Linked DNA regions of Homo sapiens: region 2 is linked to region 1. The links are contacts of gene promoters, found by promoter capture Hi-C in human tissues and cell types (Jung and others, 2019). All regions are on one chromosome and are shown on one strand. Each heading gives the region's core, a stretch centred on a gene start or on the middle of the fragment in contact. The rest is flanking DNA. Distances are from core to core; before and after follow the strand shown.

Region 1 (4,026 bases), core at 1,087-3,586:
AGATGTGGGGGCGCCGTTGGGGATCTTTAGGTTATTAGCACAGGCCCCTGTGAGGAGGTGGCACGTAGGCTGAAGGTCCTGGAGGATGAGCAGGTGTAGCCATGAGCATTCTGGGGATGAGGAACGGCATGTGTGAAGGCCCCACGGTGGGAGAGAGCCTCGTGGACTTAGAAAACACAGACAGAAGATGAGTGGGGCTGGAGATAAATTGGAGAGGCTGGCAGGGGCCAGACCGTGTGAGGCTTTAAGGGTCATGGGGAAGAACTCGGATTTTATTCTAAAGCCACTAAAGGGTTTTAAGAAGGGAAGCGATGCAATGACAATAATAATGAGGAATAGTTAACACTACTGAGAACTTGCTTAGATTTTAAGTGTGCAGTCTCTCTCTATGTATATGTAAACTCAGTCTATCATTATAACAAGCCTATGAGGTGATGAGGTATTTATACCCCCATTTTATAGATGAGGAAACAGAGAGCTTAAGAAACTTGACCAAAGTCACACAGCAAGTCAACTCTGGAACTAGGAGCTGCGTCATGCTTTTAAAAGGTCAGCCAGGTTTTATGGCAAACGGGTGATTGTAGGAGGGAAGAATGGGAGCAAGGAGGCTTTGAAATAATCCAGGTAAAGGATGATGATGTCCAGAATCAGACTTGAGTGAGGTGAGTGCAGCCCCAGCCTGGGATGCAAAATTTAAGGAGAAGTCTCAGTAATTACTGCACTCCAGCCTGGGCGACAGAGCGAGACTCCATCTCAGAAAAAAAAAAAAAAAAAAAGATAAGTAATATTGGCCTGGCATGGTGGCTCATGCCTGTAAGCCCAGCACTTTGGGAGGCTGACGCGGATGGATCACTTGAGGCCACGAGTTCGAGACCAGCCTAGCCAACATGGTGAAACCCTATCTCTACTAAAAATACAAAACAATTAGTTGGAAGTGGTGGCACTTGCCTGTAGTCCCAGCTACTCAGGAGGCTGAGGGGTGAGAATCACTCAAGCCTAGGAGGTGGAGGTTACAGTGTGTGAGCTGAGATCGTGCCACTGCACTACAGCCTGGGCGACAGAGCAAGACTGTCTCAAAAAAAAAAAAAAAGTAATATTCTAAACTAAAAACCAAGATAATGGAAAAATCCCATTATGAACAAAATATCAAAATTTTAATTAAAGACAGGATTGGTGTTACTGAAATTGCCTTTGCCTCAGGCTTCAGTATGGCTGGACCGGGCACTGGCTGGGACTAAGGTGGTGACAAGAAAGTGACCAAATTGGAGTAGACAGGCGAGGCCTGAGGTGGAGCAGGCGTGGGAGCTGGGGGAGGGCACCAAGGGGTTGAGCAGTCTCCCCTGTTGGTATCGAATATAACAATAATTCTTAGGCTCAGCAGAAGTTTAGCATCCATGTTCCCAGTCACCTGGACTTTTCCAAATCTTGGAACCCCCTCTGGCTGAAAAGGCTTTTGTTTGTTTAAACGGCCACTTTTTGCATCCAAGAGCACAAGTCAGCTTCCACTGGAAGGTTCTGAGAAACGGTTTCAGGTTTAAGTCTAGAGCATGAATGGAACGGAGTCACAGCTGAAAAAGAAACATGCCGAGTGCCAAGGAAAAGACATGGTTAAGGGGTAACATGGGCCCGGGTAGGTGAAGGTCGGCAGGTGGAGGCCGGCTGGATCAGGGAAGGTGAAAGAAGAGGCAGGGGCAGGGCCCAGCCTGTTTTAACGCCTCGGCGTTCTCACCGCTGCAGAACGGCTGCAGGGGGCAGAGTAAAGAGCTGCTGTCAGTTTCCCTGCCCAGAGAGTGCCAACAGCTGCTCTGACCTATTGCAGGCATGTGTGTTCCAGGATGCAGCCTTCCTGCACTTTGACCACTCTAGATTAATTGCTAACCAAGATATGCACATGATGGGGCTCACAAAGTATTAGGCGGTATTTTAACAACAAAAGCTGCGAAGAAATCCCTAGAAATGTTGGCTCTTCTGGCTGGGAAAACGCAGTCTGTCAACAGTTGCCTCAAAAACTCAGAAGCTCAGAGAGTTGGATTCGGTCACCAGAGAGGCCCCTCAAAGAGGCCCCAACCATTCAGATCCTCTGCTCTGTCCCCCATGACAGCGGGGACGAAGGTCCTAAGCCCTGGCCGGGAGGGCAGTTGACCTCGGGACTCGCCGCGGGGCGGAGCGGGTGCTGGGAGGAAGGAGGGCGTGGCTGGCGGGGTGTGGCTGGCGGGACGGGGCGGGGCGAAGACAGAGCGAGGCGGGGCCTGGGACGGGGGGGGGGTCGGTGTCGCCGTGGGGGCGTGGAATGTGGGGTGGGCGTGGCTAAAGGCAAAGGGCGGGGCGCGCGCGTCGGGAAGATGGCGCTACGTCTGCTGCGGAGGGCGGCGCGCGGAGCTGCGGCGGCGGCGCTGCTGAGGCTGTGAGTGCAGGTCCCCGTTCCCCGCCTTCCCGGCCCGGCTCGCCGCGGGTCGGCTCCTGTTGCAGCCCCGCGGGCCGGGCGCGGCCTCCCCAAGCCCTCACGGGAACCCAGCCGGACGGAAGCACCATGCGCCTCCCACGCGCTGGCTCGACCTCGTCCAAGGTCGCTGCCGCCCGCGCCTCCCTTTGGGAGGGCCCTCGTTGCACCCGGAAAATGGGTACACACCTTAGGTCGAATTACCTGGACTCAGCCCCAGGAAACAAAACTGCCTGCCTCCCCCAAATGGCAAACGTGAACGCGCCAGTCTTTGAGAGGCGGCTTGCCTGGTGAAGAACACCTGCGGTTCGTTTAACACAGCGGTTCCCAAACGGTTTGGTCTCAGGACCCGTTTACACGTCTAAAAATAATTTGAGGACCCCCCAAAGCTTTTGCTTATATCTATTGATTTTTGTGCATGAGGAATTAAACCAGAAATTTAAAAAATATTCACTTAATAACAAACCCATTAACTTTTAATACAAATAACACTTTAATGCATAACTTCTCAAAAAAAAAGTGAGAAGATTGGCTCATGGTTTTTATATTTTTGAAAATTTCTTTGGTTTAATAAAGGACAGCTGGAGTCTCATATCAGCTGTTTTGAAGGAAATATTTGAAAGAAATTCTGGGCTCATGCAGATGCAGATATTAGTTGGGAAAGGGAGGACCAAGCAGACCCTCTCAACGGGTCTCAGGGACCCCCTCAGGTGTCTTTGGACCACACTTTGAGAACCGCTGGTCTAGCACTTGCCCATCGCCTAGGTACGTGCACATACATGGTCTCATTTGGTTCCCTTGACCACCATGTGAAGAAGTTGGGTGTCATGTTTATAAAGATGAAAAAACAGGGTCAGAAAGGTTAAGGATTCTCAAAGCCCTATGACCAGTAATGAGAGAGTTTGGTTCAAACACTAAGTGTATGGCTCCTGGTCTGGAACTTCTTTATTTATTTATTTTTATTTTTTGAGACAGAGTCTCGGTCTGTCACCTAGGCTGTAGTACAGTGGTGTAATCTCGGCTTACTGCAACCTCCACCTCCTGGGTTCAAGCGATTCTCATGCCTCAGCCTCCTGAGTGGCTGGCATTACAGGTGTGCACCACCACCCCTGGCTAATTTTTGTATTTTTAGTAGAGACAGAGTTTCGCCATGTTGGCCAGGCTGTTCTCGAACTCCTGACCTCAAGGGGGTCCACCCGGATCAGCCTCCCAAAGTGCTGGGATTACAGGCGTGAGCCACCATGGCCGGCCTGGTGGTCTGGAACTTCTTTTTTTTTTTTTTTTTTTTTTTTTCCGAGATGGAGTTTCGCTTTTGTCGCCCAGGCTGGAGTGCAATGGCGCCATCTCAGCTGACTGCAACCTCCGCCTCCCGGATTCAAGTGATTCTCCTGCCGCAGCCTCCGGAGTAGTTGGGATTACAGGGCGTCCGCCACCATGCCCGGCTAATTTTTGTATTTTTAATAGAGACGAGGTTTCACCATGTTGGCCAGGCTGGTCTGGAGCTCCTGACCTCGGGTGATCCACCTGCCTCGGCCTCCCAAAGTGTTGGGATTAAAGGCGTGAGCCACCGTGCCCGGCCTGGGTCT
Region 2 (4,026 bases), core at 599-3,098, 1.5 Mb after region 1:
CTTTGGCAAGGCCATAGGTGGTGTCAGATTCTTCCATCGAAAGGAACAGAGTGTGTGTGTTTCTTTTTGTGATGTTACGGGTCTTGATGTTCATTTCTTAGATCCCTTGACTTCATTCCGTTTGCAAAACTGTCATTTCTTTTTCATTTATTAGTTGGGATAGTTTTATAATGAGGTGCTTTCCCTCCTGTATTATTTGGTTACCCAGTAGCAAAACTGGTATGGAAAAGCCAAGATAAATGCTTGATTATCGACTTTTACTTATTAATTTTACATGGTTGATTTTCTATCATCGCTCAAGGTAACCAATTACTATTTAAAAAATGTCATTATGAACTCAAGATTTAAACTTATTTAATGTTTAATGGATTTCAGTCCATGTCAATTACCATTTCTTACTGTTAGTCAAATTATCTCTACTGTGCTCATTGGGAGTTTTTCAAGTTGGTCAGTCTGTAGGTTCTTTTTATATGACCCTCGTAGTCTTTGACAAAGCTTCCTTGTTCCTAGTATGACAAGATGCTCCAAGGTCAGCTTGTACACTTCCTATTCAAAATCAACCATTTTCTTCAAGAAGCCCTGGTTTACTTATTGGAAAATTGGAAAAATGGTGTTTCAAGAACATATCTAGAGCCCATAGATGCTCACTGCTATGGAGTTGGTCACTGTTTCAAATATTTTGCCTGGGTTTATTCTGATGTTTTCAATTTAAATTCATGACCCAGGATTTTTTTTTTTTTTTTTTAGTTATACTTTAAGTTCTGGGGTACATGAGCAGAACGTGCAGGTTTGTTACGTAGGTATGCATGTCCCACAGTGGTTGGCTGCACCCATCAACCCGTCATCTACATTAGGTATTTCTCCTAATGCTATCCCTCCCCTTGCCCCCCACCCCGATAGCACCCAGTGTGTGATGTTCCCCTCCCTGTGCCCATATGTTCTCATTGTTCAATTCCTACTTATGACTGAGAACATGCTGTGTTTGGTTTTCTGTTCCTGTGTTAGTTTGCTGAGAATGATGGTTTCCAGCTTCATCCGTGTCCCTGCAAAGGACATGAGCTCATTCTTTTATATGGCTGCATAGTATTCCATGGTGTATACGTGCCACGTTTTCTTTAGGATTTTTATTTTTACCTAAGCTTTTCTATATGATATCTATATCTCCTTTTTTCTCCACAAAGAGCACTCTTGATTATCAAGAGCACCAGGGATGCCAGAATTAGATTGTCTCAACAGTGACTCAGTTTTATTTCACATTTCATAGACAATAGTCTCAGAATGAAAATACACAACCAAGAAAACTACTGAATATCTTAAGGGTTTGCATATCTTCTTCCCGTTCACCTCCTCATTTGTATATCTGTACTCTATCCATATTAGAACAAATAATTATTACATATTTCACTCTTCATGTTGTCCTTATGTAGTTAGTTGTTACATATGAATGTGAATTTTTATGCCAAATGGTTTAAGAGTCCCTTTTGGAGTTCATTTAGGTTATCTGAGGCATGTTTTTTAGTAGATTACAGGTTCATTGAAACAAGATTACTTGTATCTTACATTACTCATATTCTTAGATCTTGAAAGCAGTTTCTCTGACCTTGAAAGTTGAAAGTCAGTTTTCAGGATGGAAAAAAATCTGGCTCAGATATTCTTTGCCTGGGCATCCTATATATGTTACTCTATTTTCTTCTGACATAAAGCATTGCTGCTGAAAAATCTCATGATAATCTAACGTTCTTTCCTTTATAAATCACTTGTTCTTATTTGGGCTAGATAATATATTTTTAAAAAATTTAAAGACCTGTCATTTGTCTGGTGTATGTATTGTTTTTAATCATTTACTCCAATATTTTTAGGTGTGTGCTGTCAATATATAGTTTCATATCTTTTTATGTTTCAGAAAAGTTTAGTATACGTTTTATTCTCTTGCTGTGGTTTTTCTTCCTTAGGGACACCTATAATGCAGATGTCGGATTTTTGACTTTCTTCAATTTGTCATTTTTCTTGCAAATCATTTTCATCTCTTTCTTCATTTCTCTTTGATTTTAAAAAATGCCCTCTTCTCCATTTTCTATTTCTCACTTTTGAATCATCTGAGGTCTCTTTATGTTCCTTCTCGTTTAGTTTTCATTGCTTTAATTTATAACTTTTCTCAGTTCTGGCACCTCATTTCTGAGTTTTTCTAACTTTTATTTATGTTGCTATTTCATCCTTATGTAATTTTTAATGTCTTTTAACTAATTTTTCAATAGTATGCTACAGTTTGAGCTGGTTAGAGCACGTTTTTGTAGGTTGCTTTCCTTGTCTACAGTGAGAGACAGTATTCTGCTGTTTTTTTCTTATAATAACGTTTGCAGGGAATTTGGCTTTGATAATTTTCCTTACTCATTTTTATACAAAATTAGTTTTCCCAAACAGTTTAGTATTTCTCTTCTAACTTCAGAGTTTCCTCTTCTGTTGTTTTAATATATCGATCAAATATGGTAGCTTTCTTTCTGGAATTTCCAAGCTCTGTTTCCCAATCCTCCTCCCCCCACAAATTTTGTCTGGATCTGCTTTTATCCTTATCACTCTTGTTCCTGGCCTGTTCAATTTTGATTCCACTCCTGGACTTTTTATTTCAGAATGGAGCAAAGAAGATGTTCTACCATTCCATGAACATTGGACGCTCTGTAACTAAGCTTGGTTTCCTCCCACAGACACTAATATCATGCAAATCATGTGGCTGTTTGTCAACACTTGCTTTTATTTAGGGTTTGTGGATTACCGAGTTTTATGGTAAATATTAACTATGGATTTGGGGTTTTGATATCTTGGTATTCTTTTTGTTTTCATGTGGGAATTCAAGGTTAAAAAACAATGTCAATGCCTCTGTCATCTTTATAGAAGAAGGCTCCTTAATTTTTTCTTGTTGAATTTTAAAGTAGATTTATCAATTTTATTACTGCTTCCAAAGAACAAAATTTCAATTATGTTGATATTATTTATCACCTCTTTCCCCCCATTTGATTAATAACTGCTTTTCTCTTTATTATTTCTTTCTTTCTGCTATCTTAGTGTTTCCTTGGTTGATAATTTTTCTAAATTCTTGAAATGAATGCTTGGAGGATTAATTTAAGCCTTTATTTCTTTACTAGATATTCATTCAGGGCTAAATTTTTTCCTCTAAAAATGCCATTAGCTACTTCCCACAAGTTTGATGCATCTTTTGTTCATTATTTTTTAATTGTAGATATTTTCTTATTTTCATTGGTGTTTCTTCTGTGCTTATTTGAAAATAGTTTTAAATTTCTGAATGTGTAGGTTTTTTTGTGGTTATTTTCTTCTTATTAGGTTTCTGATTTTGTTACATTTTGGTCAAATAATATCTTTTCTAGGACACTGATGTGTATATATTTAGAAGTCTGTGGTAAATGGTTACATTTAAAATCATACATGTGTTCTTGAATTAGAATGTTATTCTCTAGTCATTGAATGAAGAATTTTATAGATGCCCATTGCACATTTAAAAATGTACATTTTATAACTTCTACATCTGTATTTCTTGGCTCCTTGATCTGTGCTGAGGTGATATATACATATTTTAAACTTAATCTTCAAACTAATCCTCATAGGTAGGTAAGGTATTATTATCTCTTTTTTCCAGATTAAAGATCTAAGGCTCATAAAAATTAAGTTGTCTAAGTTCACTCAGATAATAAATTGCAAAATTATTACTAGAACTCTGGATCATGCAGCTTCAGTGTTCAAATCTTTTCACTGCATTATGTCTATGTAAAATGTCACTAGGCTTAGTATAAAAAAGCATTTTCTAAACTATATCATAACAAAATATTATCTGCTTGACTTGAAATATTTTGTTTACACATATTATAAACTCTTGCTATTCTCACATCCTAATGCAAAATCGAAACTAACCAACTTTTTGTTTGTTCTACATATGCATAATTGATTTTCAGAATAATGACTCTGAAGCACTGAAAGAGATCAATACATTTCCTAACTCATTAAAGCTAGTATGAT

The links. The method cuts DNA at HindIII sites, captures the fragments that hold promoters and counts their contacts. A contact is called where the count stands out against the background at its distance.
Region 2: a fragment that was not itself captured here is called in contact with the fragment with the promoter of CLYBL in region 1 in 1 of the 25 tissues and cell types used here (dorsolateral prefrontal cortex).

Annotation. Positions count from the first base shown.
Region 1 is chr13:99,604,354-99,608,379 of GRCh38, forward strand. It overlaps CLYBL (citramalyl-CoA lyase), which reads left to right and starts at 2,337. Exons shown (of 9, transcript NM_206808.5): 1 at 2,337-2,404. The coding sequence starts at 2,343. It overlaps LOC105370332 (a long non-coding RNA gene), which reads right to left and starts at 1,496. Exons shown (of 3, transcript XR_931674.3): 1 at 1,409-1,496. RefSeq lists enhancers at 1,200-2,179, 2,102-2,396 and a silencer at 2,118-2,677. The HindIII fragment of the contact is 17,148 bases long and covers 1-4,026 here.
Region 2 is chr13:101,128,989-101,133,014 of GRCh38, forward strand. All of the region lies in intron 17 of NALCN (sodium leak channel, non-selective), which reads right to left. Among named protein-coding and RNA genes, the nearest start is that of LINC00411, 190 kb to the left of the region's middle. The HindIII fragment of the contact is 3,814 bases long and covers 1-3,755 here.